2 separate regions of the Homo sapiens genome follow, and region 2 is linked to region 1. The links are contacts of gene promoters, found by promoter capture Hi-C in human tissues and cell types (Jung and others, 2019). All regions are on one chromosome and are shown on one strand. The core of a region is centred on a gene start or on the middle of the fragment in contact, and the rest is flanking DNA. Distances in the headings are between cores, read along the strand shown.

Evidence for each region. The method cuts DNA at HindIII sites, captures the fragments that hold promoters and counts their contacts. A contact is called where the count stands out against the background at its distance.
Region 2: a fragment that was not itself captured here is called in contact with the fragment with the promoter of LRRC9 in region 1 in 1 of the 25 tissues and cell types used here (dorsolateral prefrontal cortex).

Annotation. Positions count from the first base shown.
Region 1 is chr14:59,918,545-59,922,304 of GRCh38, reverse strand. LRRC9 (leucine rich repeat containing 9) reads right to left here and starts at 2,161. Exons shown (of 33, transcript NM_001395648.1): 1 at 2,032-2,161. RefSeq lists an enhancer at 1,802-3,001. The HindIII fragment of the contact is 18,773 bases long and covers 1-3,760 here.
Region 2 is chr14:59,719,903-59,723,662 of GRCh38, reverse strand. All of the region lies in intron 3 of RTN1 (reticulon 1), which reads left to right. Among named protein-coding and RNA genes, the nearest start is that of MIR5586, 75 kb to the right of the region's middle. The HindIII fragment of the contact is 4,104 bases long and covers 1-3,699 here.

The DNA of each region.
Region 1 (3,760 bases), core at 912-3,411:
AAGGTCAAAAATAACCTTCTAATGGCCAAAGACAGCGGACATGTTTTGATTCTCAACTTGACCTTGACATGGCATTTGACAATGCTGACGACTCTCTTCTTCACGTTTTCTTCTTTGGTTCAACTTTTCTCCTTGGCTTCTCTCTACTTGTTATTTCAAACTTACTTTGTGCTTTTCTTCTTTTCTTTTTTCTTTCTTATTTATTTATTTATTTTTTTTTTGAGACAGAATCTCACTTTGCTGCCCAGGCTTGACTGCAGTGGCACAATCTGGGCTCACTCCAACCTCTGCCTCCCAGGTTCAAGTAATTCTTCTGCCTCAGCCTCCCAAGTAGCTGGCACTACAGGCGCGTGCCATCACACCCGGCTAATTTTTGTATTTTTAGTAGAGACAGGGTTTCACCATATTGGCCAGGCTAATCTCGAACTCCTGACCTTGTGATCCACCCGCCTCGGCTTCCCAAAGTGCTGGGATTACAGGCATGAGCCACCGTGCCTGGCCTACTTTGTGCTTTTCAAACCAATTGTTTTCTTCATGGTGAAAAATCCTTATCTTCTTTTCTGTGCAAAAAAAAAAAAAAAAAAAAATCCAACTGCCCACATGAAAAAGCTCCATCTGAATGTGCCACAGGCATCTCAAATTCAGTGTGTTCAAAATTGAACTCATTATATTTTCCAACCAGCCTCCTTCTCCTAATGTATGCCTTCTCTTGAAAAGTAACACCACCATTCTTCTATTGGTTGAGCTATTATCCTCAACCAATCTTTGACTCTATCCCCCTATTTTCATTCACTCATTAAATCCTTCTGCATATACCTCTTAAAGGTCTTACCACATTTTTTTTCCTCCTCCTCATTCCAATTGCCTCTGCCTTGGTTCAGGCCCTCATCACCTCCCCTTAACTTGATGTCCTCCCTGTAGTCTGTCTTCCCTCAAGTTCATCCTCTACACTACTGTGACAGCCTCCTGAAAGGTAAATCTGCTCATGCTTTACCCCTTTGGAAGGTATTAATGGTTTCCATGCTCTGACTCCTGCCTACCTCACATGCTCATCAGCCACAACCTCCACAGAGGACCCTAGGTTCAGGCCACAACTATAGTTCTCTGGAACTGAATGGATGTTTCTGTACTTTGGCATGGGCTGTTTCCTCTCCCTAAAATGTCCTTTTCCCTTGGCTGTATGGCATACTCCATACTTCCCTAAAGATTTAAATCAAAGATCTTCTCTTTGAAGACTTTCATTCTCTCTGGTAGTATTATAAGCATTCTCTTTCTTGTGATTCTGGTTAGGGCTTGCACATACTCTTTGTATAGCACTTGTCACACTGTAAAACAATGTTTACGGGCCTTTCTTCCCTACTAGGTTACATGTTCATTGAAGGCAGAAACTGTGAACCTATCACAGGTTCACTGTCTGGCACATGCTAGTTGTTAAAAAAATTGTTTAATGGGTTAATTGTCATGCCACAGGCATATGGTATAATTTAAAGACATAATCGTTCTCCATGACCAGAGTATAATGATAGAGTAAAAAGGACCATGGTTTCTGTCTGCCGTGAGAGTTGGTTAGGATGTCATTCTGAGAAAACTTTTTTTTTCTCTGCCCAGTAGAAGTCCTGTATGGGTCAAATTATTTCCTCCTTTGGGTATAAAAGGATCAGAATCCATCAGTTACCACTGATGGTCCAAATAAACCCCCTACACTCTCTAGATGAGCAGTGTCAGGTTTGGTTAGGGAGCACTTGGTTTTTCCAGCCCAGAATCTTAATTGGTGCAGTAAAATCTGCATAGTTGGCTGTAGGCCACCCTCCCTTTCCTTCTCTTGAACTTTGTTCTGGTACCCTGACTGCCTCAGTAAAGCCACCTCACTGTCTTTCATCATTATCATCACCATTGCACCATTACGGAGTTCCCTTGACCTCAACTTTGCTTCACTGGCGTCTTCCCCTTGGTATGGCTTGGAAGGAAAAAGAGGGGATCAAAGACTCCCGGTGATGTACGCCCGAAGGCCACCAGGTGACGGATTCTGACCTTATCACAGAGAGAGGGTGGATTCCGGGGCAATCCGATTCAAGTCCGAGTCCACTCCGATTTCCCAATCCCTGTCTTGCAGCAGAAGGTAGGAAACCCTCTCCCGCCCCAGGCCTGGTGTGTACAGACTGCCTGTGGCGGTTGCCTAGGTAACCTGATCTCCGCCTCCGGCGACCTCCGGGTGGGGAGGAGGAGAAAAGGGGCGGGGAGGGGGATAAAAGGGTGGGGGGGAAGCGGAGGCCGACCCGGGTTTGCATCACGTGGTGGCGACCTCCAACCAATCAGCGGAAGCAGGGGTCCAACCGGAAGACCCCACCTGGGGCTCCTGGGAAACGGCGGGAGCTTCTCGCTGGCAGGTTTTTCTGTACCTGCGCTTATCTTTTCACTTACCTTCGCCAGTTCGCGGAACGTGACTGAAAGCAACGCGTTATGGGCAAGGTGGTGGGGACTTATTCGTTACCTCCTCCAGTCTCGCTCTCTCCCATTCATTATCTTTAGCTCTCGGGTCCTGGAAGCGCGGAGCCTCTCTGGCCTTGAGCCCCGAGGGCATGGCCCTGTGATGTCACAAGGTGGCGTGACAGCCGGGACGAACCCCGACCCCCAGCGCGGCATCCTTCCCGCGGCCAGCGACCACCGCCTCCCGGGAAGGTGGCTGACCACAGCCGCAAGCCGCTGCGCGCCCGGCAAGCCGAATGGAAGGACGGCGCGGGCAAACGAACGCCCAGTGAGGTCCAGAGAAGAGAGGGACCTTCCGAGGGTCTTCTAGTCGATCTCGGACAGGCTTTTGAGTGCCTTTTAAGCATTCCAAAATTTTCAGGAGACAACAGTAATTTACAAAATAGAGTAGAATTAAAAGGGGGGAAAGGGGAGACTTTTCAGAGTGGGCAGAGAGGCTGAGAAATGAACTTAGTAAAAGGCAAACCAAAGCAACCGCAGGTCTCGTGTCGTTCTCTGGATCTGCGCAGTCCAGCAGGGTGAGCCGCTACCCACAGACTCGCAGGGCCCATGATCGCTTGAAATGTGGCTTGTCCAAATTGACATGTGCTGTAAGGTACGCATTGTATTTTGAAGGCTTAGTATGAAAAAAATAAACTCTTTCGTTATTAATCTTCATATTGATTAAATGTTGAAATAATATTTTTGATACATTGGGTTAAATAAAAAATATTGTTAAAATTATTGTTTCTATTTTGAAAATGCGGCTGTTAGATAAATTTTAAATTGCATGTATGACTTGAATTATGTTTCTTTTGGACTGTGCTCTCTTTTATGTGGTTCAGTCGGTTTGTGTAGAATAGTTGTGATGTTAATGCAAAATATTGTCTGTAGTGCTTCTTTCTGTCACCAGATGGCCACCTCATTAAATAGACTATAGTTTTGAACTGCTTTCCCAAGAAAAAGTTCAGATTTTAGGAATATTCTCATTTAACAATTGTCAACAATTTCAGCATATTTGCCTTTATTCAATTAACTTTATCTGTAATATAGACCGTTTGTAAAGATACATAAACAAAAATTAACTGGTTTTCCCTCTACATTCTTATTTCACAGAAAATTGTTTCTATCTGTCATTAATAGATAATTCGAAATAAGCTAATTAAAGTTATTTGTGGCTTAGGGGTTTCAAACTAATGCCAGAAAAGTCAGATTCATAGTTTTTACTTTTACTATTATCTTCTCTGAAATGTAGTTGAACAAGGTGACCTGTCTTTGGGGAAGTTTTCTTCAT
Region 2 (3,760 bases), core at 398-2,897, 200 kb after region 1:
GCAGAGTTTTATTTTTTTTAATTTATTTTTATTTATTTATTTATTTTGAGACGGAGTCTCGCTCTGTTGCCCAGGCTGGAGTGCAGTGGAGCATCTCTGCTCACTGCAAGCTCCGCCTCCCAGGTTCACGCCATTCTACTGTCTCAGCCTCCCGAGTAGCTGGGACTACAGGCGCCCACCACCACCACGCCCGGCTAATTTTTTGTATTTTTTTTTTTTTAGTGGAGATGGGGTTTCACCATGTTAGCCAGGATGGTCTTGATCTCCTGACCTTGTGATCCACCCACCTTGGCCTCCCAAAGTGCTGGGATTACAGGCGTGAGCCACCGCACTCGGCCAGGGTAGCAGGGTTTTAGACGATGGCAGTATGCTTTCATATTCCTACTTGAAACTGACTGTCTTCTTGCCAAACAAATGGCCTCTTTTCAATCTCATCTTTCTTGTCCTCTCTGGTAATCTAATATCATACTGCTGATCAGTCCTTAAAACGTTAATAATAAAGTAATGTATATTTGTTGTAATAAATTCAAACTGTACAAAATGGCACAGAATTCAAAGTTAAAGAGTCTGGGCATGGTGGCCCACACCTGTAGCCCCAGCACTTTGGGAGGCCAAGGCTGGTGAATCACTTGAGCCCAGGAGTTCAAGACCAGACTACGCAACATGATGAAACTCCATCTCTACAAAAAATACAAAAATTAGTTGGGTGTGGTGGTGCATGCCTGTAGTCCCAGCTACTCAGGTGGCTGATGTGGGAGGATCACTTGAGCCCAGGAGGTCGGGCCTGCAGTGAGCTTTGATCACACCACTGCACTCCAGCCTGTGCAACAAAGAAAGACACCTTGTCTCAAAAAAAAAAAAAAAAAGTTAAAAGTTCCCTACTCAACCCTCCCATCCCTAATTCTCACACGTCACTACAGGCCTTTGTATTGTTTTTTTTTTATTGTTGTTCTTGTTCTTCAAGAATTTCTTTAAGTATTCAGGAATATATAGTTTTTCACTGAAAAAGTAACATTATATTGAACATACTGTTTTGTAACTTATGTCATTTAACAATAAAATTAGGGACAATATCAGCTCTCATGGAAATCGTTCACTCCTTCTCAGAACTTTTTCCTCCCTTATCGTACTGATGTTTCTCTTTCTTGGTTCTCCTCTTACTCTCTGACCTCTTTTCCAGTCTCTTTTGCTACCACCCTTCCAGTTCCTCTGTGTTGTCCCTGAGTTCTATCCTTGTCTTTCTTCCTCCTGCCTATCCTTGCTGTCAAAGCTGCTGTCACCCATGCAGGTTTTCAGGCACTGCTTTATGTGTGACACTTCTCAAATCTCTTGCTTTGAAGAAATCCTCTTTTCTAAACTCCAAGCCGATTTCCCTCACTGTGTATTGGACATCCCATAGACCTCCCAAATTCCGTATGTCCATGTTAATTTATCAAAATTTGCTCTTTTCCTTCCTCTGTTCCCTTCCTGAGCAAATGAAGTGATGTCATTGAGTGTGAACACTCAACCTCCAGGACTCTAACCCTCTTACAGTTCTAAGTTCTCATACTTTTTGAATACTGTTAGGAATTTATCCCATAGAAATGCTATAGCAGGTGGGCAAAAATATATAAATTATACACATGTGTAAATAGAGTTAGAAAGATACATATGAATATCTTTCTTATCTCGTTTTTCATAGTAATGAAAAAGTTGGAAAAAACACCAACAGGGAGTTGAGTAAAATGAATTTTCATCCATCCATCCATTGGAGAGCAACAAAATCATTTAGAAGAACTAAGTCTGGATCCAAGTAAAGACTCATTAGCCTGAGACAAAGTTAAAGGTACTCGGTGCCGACCTGACTGTAAATACTTCAGTAGAAGTCTTGCAGTAGTGTTTGGTTATAAAATTATCACCCAGGTGATCCAGAGTGTTCTTACTATTTGAAAAATTAATATCAAAATAAAAATACAAAAATGAAATTCTCTTTTTGGAACCCTAAAGTACACAACCAGTGACCCAGATTGAGAAATATTTCTTTAAGCTAGCAAGGACTTAAGTGTTGCTTGGGGACCAGGTACCTCAGCACCTTTTGGAGTGCTTGTTCAGAATTCAGATTCTCAATCTACCCCCACCTCGAAACTACAGAATGAGAACTGGCTGGGGCATACATCTGCACTTTTAATAATCACACTGAAGCTTGAGAATTTCTATTGTAAACAGATGAGCTAAGCAGCCCAGACCTTCTAAGAAAACTTGTTGGTGAGCATGACTTAGACATATCATGCTTTTAAATTAAAGATGCTGAGGGGGACTCAGCTGTTTCTATCTCTTTCTGTTAGAGAGGTACCTGTCTGTGCCCTGGGAGGCAGGCCTCTGCAGCCTGCTCACCCATGGCCTCCTCTGTGTATAGCAGCTACAGCAGCTTGAGGCTGGAGGGCTCAGCCCCTTGTGGCAGGGGAAAACCTGTCTTTTCCTTGGAGGGGTGATTTGTGGGATGGCTACCAGGTGGAGGTCTTCTCAAATAGAATAGATTTTCATCTGTCTAGCATTTATGATGTTTGTTATCACTTTTCATTATTATACTAGATATTACTTCTGTCCTAAAATATTTGGGAGGGAACCAAAATAAGTATGACCCATTTACTTTCTTCTCATAATTCTAAAAAAAAAAAGTCATTATACCCTAGTCCTGTATGTGTTCACTTTCATGAGACTGTATTAATATACCGGGCTATAAAGATTCTTGGAAAGTCTCTTTCTTTCACAATACAGGTGTTAGATTCCACTTGAGCTCTATGCCCCTCCACTGAAGCTGCTGTTCTTTGTCAGCTTTCAACAAGATGGACCAGTAACTGCTGGATAAAGTGTGACTCCTGTGTTGGTATGTGCTATGCCATGGAAATACTTAGATGGAGACATCGATTTTCCACCTTAGAGTATTTTTTTTTTTTTTTTTGAGATAGGGTCTTACTCTGTCACTCAGGCTGGAGTGCAGTGGCGCGATCTCAGCTCACCGAAACCTCCACTCCCAGGTTCAAGCAATTCTCCTGCTTCAGCCTACTGAGTAGTTGGGACTACAGGCATGCACCACCATGCCTGGCTAATTTTTGTATTTTTTGGTAGAGACAGGGTTTTGCTGTGTTGGCCAGGCTGGTCTTGAACTCCTGGCCTCAAGTGATCTGCCTGCCTTGGCCTCTCAAAATGCTGGAATTACTAGCGTGAGCCACTGCAACCAGCCCACCTTAGACTATTGAAAGCAACTAAGCTACTTTTATGAGACTTTGCCCAGTGATAGAAGGAGCTCTTCTGGTCTAGGCAACCCTGGATGAGGCTGCCAGCAGCCAGCTGAATTCATGGCTTTTCTTTCTGAAGCTGTCACAGAGTTAGCAGTGTTCCAATTGCATATCGATCTATGTTTTTTTTTTAAAATGGTGGCTTCACTGAGTGGTGGGGTTTCCTTCTCAGCCTTGGATAGAATTGCTGCAAATCTTGGTGGCTCCAGCACTTATTATTTCTAGGGACAGTTATTCTTGCCACTTCAATTCCAAGATGTGTGTAAAGATCTAAAATGGTTATTGTACCTTGGTAATACTTTTAATACCAAATCTTTGGGACACAATAAACCCTCCTAGTAAATTTGGTTTGGGCATGCAGTAGGGCATTGATCAGCTCCTGAAATGGAATCGAGTCAACCTTAAACTTGCCTGTAGAGGGAGAGCTCCCAGGCAGCAAACATTTTTATGCCTCCAAGAAATAATGATCCTATTTATTAATA